4 separate regions of the Homo sapiens genome follow, and regions 1, 2 and 4 are each linked to region 3. The links are contacts of gene promoters, found by promoter capture Hi-C in blood cells and fetal thymus (Javierre and others, 2016). All regions are on one chromosome and are shown on one strand. Each heading gives the region's core, a stretch centred on a gene start or on the middle of the fragment in contact. The rest is flanking DNA. Distances are from core to core; before and after follow the strand shown.

Region 1 (3,258 bases), core at 112-2,611, 570 kb before region 3:
GTCCACTCTTCTCTGCCTAGTTTCACTCTGGTGACAATGTTGGTGCTGGGGCAGGGTGCTGGTGGTGGCTGGGCTGCACTCTGACTACAGTGGAAGTATGATGGGGGAGGTGGTGGAGTGGACTGCACTTACCCCAGCAGCAGTGGCAGCAGAGGGTTCATGGGCACACACATGCTGGTAGGACAGGGAAGGTAAAATCCACCCATGCACATATACTCCAGCAATATAGGGGTGGTTGTGGGCCTGGAGTGAGGGGAGGGAGTGGGTGGGCTGGTGCAGTCTGCCAGCGCAGGAGCTATGATGCAGCCCCCCGAGGGCACTCGAGGCTGCATTGCAAGCAGGTGCAGCCAGGCTGGGGCCCTGCGAGAGGTCAGCAGGCAAAGGGGTGCTCACGTCAGACTGGCCTCATTTGGTGGGCAAGACTGCCCTGAGAGCTCATGTCCAACAGTTCCCCTAGGGCTAAAGTCTCTTATGGGAGCAAATCAAGCCTAGGGGGATGGGCATCCCTGATTATGCTTCACTACAGACATTACCACAACAAACCCTCTGGGCTCTGCACCAGCTGGAGTGCTTCCCCTACCACTTCTCTAAGCAGCTCTCCCTGCCAACTCAAGTGTCCATGGTGGTTGAGGGGTCTCCTCCTGCCCAGATTCCAGAGGCATGTGGTGAGGGCAGGTTGCTCCTTTCCAGTTCAACTTGCTCCTTCCCCTGGAGTAATTGGGGGCTTTTTTTCAGGTTTGATATCGGAGTAATGCTGGCCTCGCAGAATGAGTTTGAATGTATTCTCTCCTCTTTAGTATTTTGAAATATTTTGAGAATAATTGGTATTCTTCTTCTTTTTTTTTTTTTTTTTTTTTGGGACAGAGTCTTGCACTATCTCCCAGGCTGGAGTGCAGTGGTGCGATCTCGGCTCACTGCAAGCTCAGCCTCCCAGGTTCACGCCGTTCTCCTGCCTCAGCCTCCCGAGTAGCGGGGACTACAGGCGCCCGCCATCACGCCCGGCTAATTTTTTGTATTTTTAGTAGAGACGGGATCTCACCGTGTTAGCCAGGATGGTCTCGATTTCCTGACCTCGTGATCCACCCGCCTTGGACTCCCAAAGTGCTGGGATTACAGGCATGAGCCGCCGCGCCCGGTTTTTATTCTTCTTTAAATGTTGGTAGAATTCAGTAGTGAAACTACCAGGTATTGGGCTTTTCTTTGATGGGAGACTTTTTATTACTGATTCGATGTCCTTACTCATTATTGGTCTCTTGAAATTTTTTTATAACTTCATAATTCAATCTTAGTAGGTTGTATGTGTCCAGGAATTTATCTGTTTCTTCTAGGTTATTCCATTTGTTGGTGTAAAATTGTATAATAATGTCTTATGATCCTTTTTATTTCTGTGGTATCAGTTATAATGTCTCCTTTTTCATTATTGTTTTGTTTGTCTTCTCTCTATTTTCCTTAGGTAGTTTAGCTAACTGTTGGCTGGTTTTATTTTTTCTCAAAACACCAACTCTTAATTTTGTTGCTCTTTTGTATTTTTTTCAAGCCTCTATTTCATTTATTTATATGCTGATATTTTTTAGACGAGGCCTCACTCTGTCACCCAGGCTGGAATGCAGTGGTGTGATGTTGGCTCACTGCAACGTCTACTACCCAGGCTCAAGAGTTCCTCCCACCTCAGCCTCTTGAGCAGCTGAAACCACAGGCACCTGCCACCACGCCTGGCTATTTTTTTTTTTCATTTTTGGAAGAGATGGTGTTTCACCATGTTGCCCAGGCTGGTCTTGAACTCCTGTGCTCAAGTCATCCATATACCTCAGCCTCCCAAAGTGCTGGGATTACAGGCGTGAGCCACCTCATCTCACCTAAATTATGACCTTTATTACTTCCTTCTCCTAATTTTAGATTTAGTTTGTTCTTGTATTTCCAGTTCCTTGAGGTATAATGTTGGATTCTTTATTTGAAACCTTTCTTCTTTTTGAATGTAGGTGTTTATAGCTATAAACTTTTCTCTGAGAACTGCTTTTGCTGTATCCCATAAGTTTTGGTGCATTGTGTTTCCATTTCTATTTGTCCAAAAGGGATATTTAAATGTCTTTTAATTTCTTCATTGACTCATTGGTTTTTCAGGAGCATATTTACTCTCTATGAATGTATAAAGTTTCTGAAGTTCCTTCTGTTATTGATTTTTAGTTTTATATCATTGTGGTCAGAAGAGACAATTGATATGATTTCAATCTAAAATTTGTCAAGGCTTGTTTTGTGGCCTAACATATTATCTATTCTGTTAAATATTTTATGTACAGTTGAGAAGAATGTGTATTCTGCAGCTGTTGGATGGAATGTTCTGTAAATGTCTGCTAGGTCCATTTGGTCTACAGTGCAGTTTAAATCTGAAGTTTCTTTGTTGATTTTCTGTCTGGATGACCTGTCCATTGCTGAAAATGGATAGCAAATCCCCCTAATATCATTGTATTGCAGTCTTGTTCTCCCTTTAGATCTATTAATATTCGCTTTATATATTTAGGTGTTCCAATATTGGATGCTTTTGTATTTACAATTGTTATATCCTCTTGCTGAATTGAACTTTTATTATTATATAATGACTTTCATTGTCTCTTTTTAGAGTTTTTGACTTAAAGTTTATTTTATCTGATGTAAGTACAGCTATTCTTGCTCTCTTACAGTCTCCATTTGCATGGAAATTCTTTTTTTTTTTTTTTTTTGAGACAGAGTCTTGCTCTGTCGCCCAGGCTGAAGTGCAGTGGCATGAAATTATATTCATTAAGGTGAAGATAAAATGTGCTTTGGCATAATGAAAGAGTAGAACAGATTAAGAGAATCAGAAATCTGTGAGAGATGGGATGAATGTCACAATATTAAAGAGCTATATAGAATAATCAGGATAGACTTCATTAAGAAATTATATCTAACTTGAAGGATGTGAGGGAGTTAGCCAAGCTGTTTTCTTGGGGTAAAACATTTAAGGCAGAGGGAAAAACTACAGCAAATGCCCTAAGGAAGAAGAATGCTTATTGTGTTCAAGGAGTAGCAGAGACGTCTGTGTGCTTGGATCAGAGAGATAATAATTATTAGGAGGAAATGAGGCCAAGGTGGTAATAAAAGAAACAGATAACTTGGGTTTTCTTTGTCACTGTAAGTCTTTGCTTTCCTGAGGGAAATAGGAAGCTAGAGCTACTCTTTTTGGCACAGGAGTGATGTGGCTAAAGGATTACTCTGGCTGCCATATTAGAAATATGATGTAGG
Region 2 (3,329 bases), core at 604-3,103, 580 kb before region 3:
GTAGAGATTAGGTCTCAGTATATTGCCCAGGCTGGTCTCAAACTCTTGGGCTCAAGCAATTCTCCCACCTCAGCCTCCCAAAGTGCTGGAATTACAGGTATGAGCCACTGCACCAAACCAGAAAACTGAGTTTTAAAAAGATTAAGATTTTTATGTCTATGTAGCTTTCTCCTTAGATTCTGGGACTCCCACCCTTGCTACTGTACATAACCACTGAATGCCCAAAGAAAAAATATCAAACACTGACAACAGCTCCTCTTTGTTAGATATCATGCCTCTGCAGGCTTCTAGAAGGCTTGCAACAAAACCAGTTCGTGGTTCACTCACATAATAGATATCTTGTTCATAAATGAACGTATAAATTGGCATACCCTTGGAGGTATAACTTGTGCCCCTTGAGGACACACTTTCCTATATAGAATTGAGTCAGATCCCCCAGTTCAAGAAGAGGCACACAGATGCATAAACAGCTGGCAAGTTGAAGGACTTTGCCTTCTAGGTCATTACGTTGCCCTCTTTTCCATCCATCTCAATCATAAAGAAAATCTTGCTTTCCGGTAAGCTAAAAGAGAGCTACCAAGTGGATATCAGGATATGTGGTAGCATAGTTTTTGGGGTGTAATTTTTCTCAGCTACGGAGTATACACTAACAGAGATACGATAAAAAAAAATGCCGGCCACCATAGGACAAATTGCTGAAAATGCTGCAATAAGTATTATGACACAGTAGAAGTCCTTAAATTCTCTCGCTCAAGTGGTTTTAGACAATCAAATTGCACCAGGTTTTCTCATTGCTAAACAAGGGGGAATTTGCATGATAGCCCACACCACTTGTTGCACTTATATCAACATTATAGGAGATTTAACAACCCATGTAGGTAAGATCACCCAACAGGCTGCCTGGTTACAGGAGGTACAAACCACAGATCCCCTTAATAACGTTTTTAGCTGACTCATTGCAGTATTAGAAATTACTTCCAATCCATCTTACAAACCCTTGTCATTATCATATCACTATCTTGTTCCTATTTTTGATAGTCAAAGTACTTATAAGATCTATAACCAACTACTTCAAGTCTGTCACTAAAACCAAAGTTATGGTAGCACAATGCATAGAAATGACAGACAACATAAACATAAACTTACCTTCTCAACTTTTCTGTTGTTACTGTTTTTCTAGTCTCAAAGGTTCAAAGGGTCTTAATAGCTGTCTGCCTCCTTCTTGCCTGGCCTAAAATATTCAACTGGTTGTAAGTCTCCTAGCCACATGAGTCCCACTGACAGACTAGATAGACCTGGGGCAGGTATCCACACCATCCTGGGAACGACATGGGACATGTTAGAAAATTTAGCCATCAATGCTGCCTATGGCAGATTTCAGCCTAAAGCTGGAAAGTGTGAAATAAAACTAAAGTCCCTAAGCCCCTAGGTGAAACAGAATGGACTTCTTGTTGCAAAAGAGACCCCAGAAACTTTGAAAACTGCATTCTATGGCTTTGGCAAGGCAAGAGGTCAGTCACACCTCAACACTCCCCTACCTTGTTAACTGCCTCAAAACTTTCCTTCCTACAATTAAACAGAAACGAGTTCCTAAAAAACTGTCTGGAAGATTTCTCCCTCAACCTCAAGAGACCTCTTGATGTCATGGCTGACCTCCCCTCTTTTATCGTGGTTTCACCATGACTACTGACCAGCCTTATTAAACATTCCATTGTTATACTGACCACCGACCACAGACTGATTGCACCTAGTCCACAGAGGCTGTGCACAAGATGCCTTTGTGTTCTGTTTCACCTTGTTATATATAAACAGCCACGTGCCACTTCACTTTACTATTAAATCCCCACCCCAAAATGAACATGGAACATATGTAACATATATGTTTATTCTCTTTGCATGCATTAGGGTTTTCTCAAATATTCATAGATTCTCCTATAAGCTACTGAATATGTACATATAGCTCATCTTGTTGGGCATAAGTCCCAGCTTCTCCCTTTTGTCTCTGAAGCAGATGCTTTTCATTTTGGCTGGATGTTTCATTTCCCAACCTGCAGATTGTAACCATTTATAGGAAATAAAACTCTCTTTTTTCTTCTTCCTCAAATCTCATGATCTTTTGTTAATACTTCCCTTCCCAGCAGGGGGGATTATATGAGAAGACTGGACTTAGACCTCTACCCAGTGGTAATGTGGCCATCCTCACTGTGGTGTCAGGGGAGCCAGAACTTCCATGCTTACCCAGCAGTAACAATGAGCTCCCTTCTTCAGGTGGCAATGGAGGCTCTGTGGGGAACCTGGACTTCTGCCTGCACCTGGCAGTAATTAGGTGACATCTCCTTCTTTCTCTGTTCCCCCTTCTGCCTAAATGGTATCAGAGAAATCCCACTAAAACAGAAGGTTTAAATAGGATCCAGAGTAGCGGAATATAATATGAACATATCCAGGTTTTAATGAAAAGTTACTTATCATACCAGAAGATCTCAAACAGAATGAAAAAATGACAATCAACAGATGCCAACATTGTGATGACAGAGATATTAGAATTATCTGACAGAAATTTTAAATTAGCCATTGTAAAAATGCTTCAATAAGCAATTATAAACATTCTTGGAATAAATGAAAAATAGAATGCATAAGCAAAGAAATAGATGATAAAAGAAGAACTAAATGGAAATTTTAGAACTGAAAAATATAATAACTGAAATAAAAACCTCAGTGGATGGGGTGGGTGGGTTCAGCAGCATAATGGAGGAGGCAGAAAAAATAACAAGTGAACTAGAAGATAGAATAATAAAAATTATCCAACCTAAACAACAGAGAGAAATTAGACGGAAAAAAATGAATAGACTTTGATAAGTTGTGGACAGAGCAACCGCTAACATGTTATACAAAGAGATGCACTAAAAAACATAGTATTAACTCAAAATAGAATTTTAGAAAATATTAAAGTAAGATGAAGGCACGAAGAATAAAACAGAGAAGTGAAAATCCAAATGAACAGGAGGCCAGGTGCAGTGGCTCACACCTATAATCCCAGCATTTTGGGAGGCCGAGGTAGGAGGATCACTTGAGGCCAGAAGTTTGAGACCATCTTGGGTGACATAGTGAGACCTCGTCTCTACAAAAAAATAAAAATAAAAAAGCCCCAAAATGAACAATTAGTAAAATACAACATAGATTTCCTTTAGTAACAATTCTCCTCATATCCTTCCTTATTCTTCTTTTTATTCTTCTCTATGATTACCTATTAATGATGAAATACTAGATGTTTTACTTTCTATTTCTTCATAGGATTCCTCTGAATATATTTCTTTCTTTCTCTCTCTCTC
Region 3 (3,006 bases), core at 261-2,760:
TAGCTGTCTCTCCAGATCTTCCTCCGTGTCAATGATGTTTATATCTTCTTCATCTTGATGCTGGGTCTCATCTTCATCCTCACTGCTGCTGCTGAGGTCATTGAATATCTCCCGAAGCTCATCATGTTCTAATGAGTCATGGCCCTGCCTGTGACCAGACATTCCTGGAGAAGAGATATCCAGGCCTTGATTTTCTGCCTCCTTTGTTTCATCTTCGGCAATTATTTCCCACCGAGTACTAACAGCTTCAGCATCTGTACTCAGCAATCGTTTCACTTCTTTTTCAACATCTGGAGATTCAATATATTTCTTCTTTGCTGTCTTCCGGAACCTTCTCTTCCTGACATTCTTTAGAGGCAGAGTAATTCCGTGGTTCCAGATAAACTTTTTCTCTTTGTCCTTATCCTTTTTCTTGCTTGCTTTAGGATCAGTGCTAGCAACTGGCTCCTCCACAGGAGGATAGAGATCACCATCAACTGTGGATACAAGCATCTGACAGATATCAGCTGTCTTGTAAAAAGTTTTTTTATCAATGGTTTTCAAGCTTTCCATAACACAGGGCAGGTCTACTAATTTTGAGGCCAATGGAACACGGTCCACTCTGACGATTCCATGACGCCCATCAGGATGTAACTCAATTGTCAGTCTGTCCTTGAGGTTGACATGACCAGACTGTACTGCCCTTCTCACAGTAGAGGCATATTCTGGAGGCAGACGTAAGATAAACTGGCTCTCCAGTTCGTGAGGAGCATCATCTTTGCTTTTACTCATCTTTATTTCCTTGTGATTCACTTCTCCAATAAATGCTGGTTACACTAAAAAGTTCCAGCTACTGCAATAGTTTAAAACACCAGTTTGCTATGAATTGAAATCTTTTAATTACAAGAAGTTCTCTGTAGATCAGCAGCTAAGCGTCTATTTTGCCTTAGTTTTTATTTAAGCTCCAAGTCTTTTCTCTAAATATGCTGTGACCGAATACCAGTCGTTAACACAAAGGCTTATTCACAGACTTAAGTTCATTAAATCAGATGCAATGCCAAGTCCCAACCTCTAGGTGCCGCTGCCGGACAACGCGGAGAGAGCTAGCTAGCTAGCTAGGGAACAGGAAAGCAAATGGCGGCTCCCCCGGAACGGTTTTCGGCCCAGAAAGCCCAGCAGAGATACTTTCAACTCACAAACTCTCCCGGAACAAAGACACTCAAAAAATCAGGGCTCAGCGAGCTCTCTTCGCCTCGGGTACTTACAATCCAGTGACGATTATAAGTTCAGTTTCACCGGGCCGGAGCGAAGGGAAGAGGAGGCCGCAAGGAGCCAAGCGGGAGAGAGCCGAGCGTCTCCTTGTCGTTTCCTTAATTCTTCCTGCCGCTTGGCAGAGTGATCCACTACCGATTACTGATGAAAGGGCCCGGGATGGGCAGCGCGAAATCTTGCCGAGAGGCGCAGCTCGCATCACCAGACCCCGCACCTCGCCGGCCCTCCGTCCGGGTCGCCTACCCAGCAAAAACGGAAGTGCTACGTCGCGACGCGGGGCGGGAGGCGGCTGTGAGTGACAGCCCCTCCGGGCGGAAGGGCGGAGCCCCAGCTAGCGCAGGCGCAATAGCGCAATTACGCTGCCCAGCGTGAAACTCATCTTTTCGCGAGAACTTGTTTTTCCGGGATGGAAATGACAGTGTTTCGGAAGAGCTGTTGGTTTCAAACTATTTAGAGCTTGGAAGTTCCAAGAAAGACACAGATTCGTCCCCCGCTAAGCCAGCACTTTTACGGGATCGCTGTGGGGCCGGATGGCTTCTAGACTTCCGGGTGATTCCGGGAGATGGGGGACGCCTTGCAGTAAGCGTCTTTGCTTCTGGAAACATCTCGGATGTTCCCTAGAGTCTAGCCTATCTGGTGCCAATACAAGAATGTGTAGCTACTATACAATGGATTTCAAAGTACCCAAATCAATGGAGTGAGGAGGACATGCAGCTTACTATATAAGTCTCTCTCTATATATATGTTTGTTTGTTTGTTTTGGAGATGGAGTCTCAGGCTGTCACCCAGGCTAGAGTGCAGTGGCACAATATTGGCTGACTGCAACCTCCACCTCTGGGGTTCAAGCGATTCTCCTGCTTCAGCCTCTTAAGTAGTTGGGATTACAGGCACGTTCCACTACCCCACCTAAGTTTTGTATTTTTAGTAGAGAAGGGGTTTCACCATGTTGGCCAGGCTGGTCTCGAACTCCTGACCTGAGGTGATCTGCCTGTCTTGGCCTCCCAAAGTACTAGGATTATAGGTGTGAGCCAGCGCGCATGGCCCAAAGTCTGTATTTTTAAATATAATTCCCTGTAGGGGAATTGTGCCTCTGGTTTTACTTGTGTTCTATAATACTTCTGGGGAAACAAGGGTGATTCCTTTTTATGTGCTTGATTTAGATGTAAATGTAAACAGAGAAGGAAGTGTTCTTTTGGACAGAATTGTCTGATAGACTGAGCATCTGGTTAAAGTAGATATAATTGAAGTATTGTTTCCTGTCTCTCATGTACAAGTAATTTTAAATTACTTTGACATTTTTTTTAACTCCACCTCTACTATTTTGCTGTTTTCTGCTTGTCTTTTCTATCAATAGTCAGGTATTCATCAACACATATTTTTAGTATTTTAACATAACTGGGTAACAGTTGGTACTTATTTCTATTTATTTCCATTTATTTTTAAAATATCTGGGAGAGCATCAAGGCCATTAATATTTCATTTCTATCCTCTAAAATATTAACAATTGCCCCTAAATTTAAGAGAATTCTCTTAAGATGTAATTAACATTTCCAAAATTCACTTTATTCTTGTATGATTGAAAGCTCCATGATAGTGATCTTCTTCTATCCTGGTCATTGTGTCCCAGTGCCTAGTACCAGAATGTGGGAGATACACAAAAAATATTTGCTAATTGAATGAAAAAACTTATCTGTCTAGAAAGATCATAGTCTCAAATCCTGTAGTGATTTCTGAGAGAAAATACATTCTTTGTCA
Region 4 (3,302 bases), core at 270-2,769, 550 kb before region 3:
CTAGTATTTTAAAAATTGTTGAAATCTAAATTTATAAAAGTTATCACTCTGTGTTTTCTTTTTATTTTTGTATTGTCTTTGGTTTTGGCATCAGGGTGATACTGTCTTCATAGCATACATTGAGAAATATTCCTTCTACTTAGATGGATTACTTTCCTATGTGGGGACTTCCAAAAGTTCATGGAAAATAGAATTAAAAGATCAAAATAAAAATTATCAATTTTATTTCTCAACAAAATCTCCATCAAGTTCAAGACACTTTTAAAATTTATTTTATTTTGTTTTATTTTAAGCTCCACGATACATGTGCAGAATGTGCAGGTTTGTTATATAGGAAAATGTGTGCCATGGTGGTTTGCTGCACCTATCACCTAGGTATTAAGCCCCACATGCATTAGCTATTTTTCCTGATGCTCTTCCTCCCCCACTCCCATGACAGGCCCAGGTATGTGTTGTTCCCCTCCCTGTGCCCATGTGTTCTCATTGTTCAGCTCCCACTTATGAGTGAGAACAAGTGGTGTTTGGTTTTCTGTTCCTGTGTTAGTTTGCTGAGGATGATGGCCTCCAGCTTCATCCATGTCCCTGCAAGGGACATGACCTCAGTCTTTTTTATGGCTGCATAGTATTCCATGGTGTATATGTACTACATTTCCTTTATCCAGTCTATCATTGATGGGCATTTGGGTTGATTCCATGTCTTTGCTATTGTGAATAGTGCTGCAATAAACATACGTGTGCTTGTATCCTTATAATAGAATGATTTACATTCCTTTGAGTATATACTCAGTAATGGGATTGCTGGGTCAAATGGTATTTCTGGTTCTAGATCTTTGAGGAATTGCCACACTGTTTTCCAAAATGGTTGAATTAATTTACATTCTCACCAACAACATAAAAACATTCCTATTTCTCCACAACCTCACCAGCATCTATTGTTTCTTGACTTTTTAATAATCACCATTCTGACTGGTGTGAGATGGTATATCACTGTGGTTTTGATTTGCATTTCTCTAGTGATCAGTGATGTTGAGCTTTTTTTCACATGTTTGTTGGCTGCATAAATGTCTTCTTTTGAGAAGTGTCTGTTCATGTCCTTTGCCCACTTTTTGATGGGGTTGTTTGTATTTTTTCCTTGTAAATTTGTTTAAGTTCCTTGTAAATTCTGGATATTAGACCTTTGTCAGATGGGTAGATTGCAAAAATTTTCTCCCATTTTATAGGTTGCCTGTTCACTCTGATGATAGTTTCTTTTGCTGTGCAGAAGGTATTTAGTTTAACTAGACCTCATTTATCAATTTTTGCTTCTGTTGCAATTGCTTTTGGTGATTTCATCATAAAATCTTTGCTCATGCCTATGTCCTGAATGGTGTTGCTTATATTTTCTTCTAGGGTTTTTATGGTTTTGGGTTTTATATTTAAGTCTTTAATCCATATTGAGTTAATTTTTATATAAGGTGTAAGGAAGGGGTCCAGTTTCAATTTTCTGCATATGACCAGCCAGTTTTCCCAGCACTATTAATTAAGTAGGGAATTCTTTTCCAATTGCTTGTTTTTGTCAAGTTTGTTAAAGGTCAGATGGTTGTAAATGTGTGGTCTTATTTCTGAGATCTCTATTCTGTTCCATTGGTCTATGTGTCTGTTTTGGTACCAGTACCATGCTGTTTTGGTTACTGTAGCCTTGTAGTATAGTTTGAAGTCAGGTAGCGTGATGCCTCCAGCTTTGTTCTTTTTGCTTAGAATTGTCTTGGCTATATGGGCTCTTTTTTTGTTCCATACGAATTTTAAAGTCATTTTTTCTAATTCTGTGAAGAATGTCAATGGTAGTTTGATGGAAATAACATTGACTCTATAAATTACTTTGGGCGGTGTGGCCATTTTCATGATATTGATTATTCCTATTCATGAGGATGGAATGTTTTTCCATTTGTTGTGTCCTATCTTATTTCCTTGAGCAGTGGTTTGTAGTTCTCCTTGACGAGGTCCTTCACATCTTTTGTTAGCTGTATTCCTAGGTATTTTATTCTCTTTGTAGCAATTGTGAATGGGAGTTCATTCATGATTTGGCTCTCTGCTTGTCTATTGTTGGTGTACAGGAATGCTTGTGATTTTTGCACATTGATTTTGTGTCCTGAGACTTTGCTGAAGTTGCTTATCAGCTTAAGGAGCTTTTGGGCTGAGACAATGGGTTTTTCTAGATATAGGATCATGTTGTCTGCAAACAGAGGCAATTTGACTTCCTCTTTTCCTATTTGAATACCCGTTATTTCTTTCTCTTGCCTGATTGCCCTGGCCAGAACTTCCAATACTATGTTGAATAGGAGTGGTGAGAGAGGGCATCTTTGTCTTGTGCTGCTTTTCAAGGGAAGTGCTTCTGGGTTTTGCCCATTCTGTATGATATTGGCTATGGGTTTGTCGTAAATGGCTCTTACTATTTTGAGATATGTTCCATCAATACCTAGTTTATTGATTGTTTTTAACATGAAAGGATGTTGAATTTTATCAAAGGCTTTTTCGGCATCTTTTGAGATAATCTTGTGGTTTTTGTCATTAGTTCCGTTTATGTGATGAATTATGTTTATTAATTTGCGTATGTTGAACCAGCCTTGCATCCCAGGGATGAAGCAGACTTGATCATGGTGGATAAACTTTTTGATGTGCTGCTGGATTCAGTTTGACAGTATTTTATTGAGGATTTTTGCATCAGTGTTCATCAGGGATACTGGCCTGAAGTTTTCCTTTTTTGTTGTATCTCTGCCAGGTTTTGGTATCAGGATGGTACCTCTGTCCAGTTCTGTGCACTTGCTGGAGAAGTGTTGTGATCATTTGGAGAAGAGGCACTCTGGCCTTTTGAGTTTTCAGCATTTTTCAGCCACAGCCTGTATACTGCACTGTGGGGATTACCTCTTGGAACCAAGCTGTCCTGTCTCTCCGGCTCCAGGAGGGGAAAAATGTGGTCTAGAGCTATAGTGATGGCTGCCACCCTCCCCGCTACCCCCAGTTCAGTGTCAGGTAGCAGTGTACTTAGCTAGCAGCTGGAGTAATGTTTGCCTTCCCTCCCGCAGGGAGCTCAGTTTTCTTAGGCAGCTAGCAACCACAGTGATGAGGGCCGCCCCCACCTCAGGGAGCTCAGTTGTCTTAGGCAGCTGACAGCCGCAGTGATGGCTGCCATCTCTCCCCCTGGAAGCTCAGATGGCTTAGACAGCAGGCAGCTGCAGTGATGATGGCGGCTTCTCCTCCGGGAACTCATTACCTTTAGGCAGATTCCAGCAAGAGTGGCTGTTGAGAGTCTGTGCAGCTCTGTG

Evidence for each region. Contacts are between HindIII fragments. The CHiCAGO score rates a contact against its expected background, and 5 or more counts as called.
Region 1: a fragment that was not itself captured here is called in contact with the fragment with the promoter of TAF7 in region 3 in 4 of 17 cell types (M1 macrophages, M2 macrophages, M0 macrophages and 1 more); the score reaches 12.7 in M1 macrophages.
Region 2: a fragment that was not itself captured here is called in contact with the fragment with the promoter of TAF7 in region 3 in 2 of 17 cell types (M1 macrophages and M0 macrophages); the score reaches 8.8 in M1 macrophages.
Region 4: a fragment that was not itself captured here is called in contact with the fragment with the promoter of TAF7 in region 3 in 4 of 17 cell types (M2 macrophages, M1 macrophages, megakaryocytes and 1 more); the score reaches 12.0 in M2 macrophages.

What each region holds. Positions count from the first base shown.
Region 1 is chr5:140,753,444-140,756,701 of GRCh38, forward strand. All of the region lies in intron 3 of LOC105378198 (a long non-coding RNA gene), which reads left to right. Among named protein-coding and RNA genes, the nearest start is that of PCDHA1, 31 kb to the right of the region's middle. The HindIII fragment of the contact is 5,694 bases long and covers 1-3,258 here.
Region 2 is chr5:140,735,100-140,738,428 of GRCh38, forward strand. All of the region lies in intron 3 of LOC105378198 (a long non-coding RNA gene), which reads left to right. Among named protein-coding and RNA genes, the nearest start is that of ZMAT2, 36 kb to the left of the region's middle. The HindIII fragment of the contact is 5,793 bases long and covers 1-3,329 here.
Region 3 is chr5:141,319,274-141,322,279 of GRCh38, forward strand. TAF7 (TATA-box binding protein associated factor 7) reads right to left here and starts at 1,511. Exons shown (of 1, transcript NM_005642.3): 1 at 1-1,511. The coding sequence starts at 771. RefSeq lists enhancers at 1,040-1,239, 1,820-1,879, 1,890-2,039. The HindIII fragment of the contact is 5,333 bases long and covers 543-3,006 here.
Region 4 is chr5:140,773,143-140,776,444 of GRCh38, forward strand. No RefSeq gene overlaps it. Among named protein-coding and RNA genes, the nearest start is that of PCDHA1, 11 kb to the right of the region's middle. The HindIII fragment of the contact is 5,471 bases long and covers 1-3,302 here.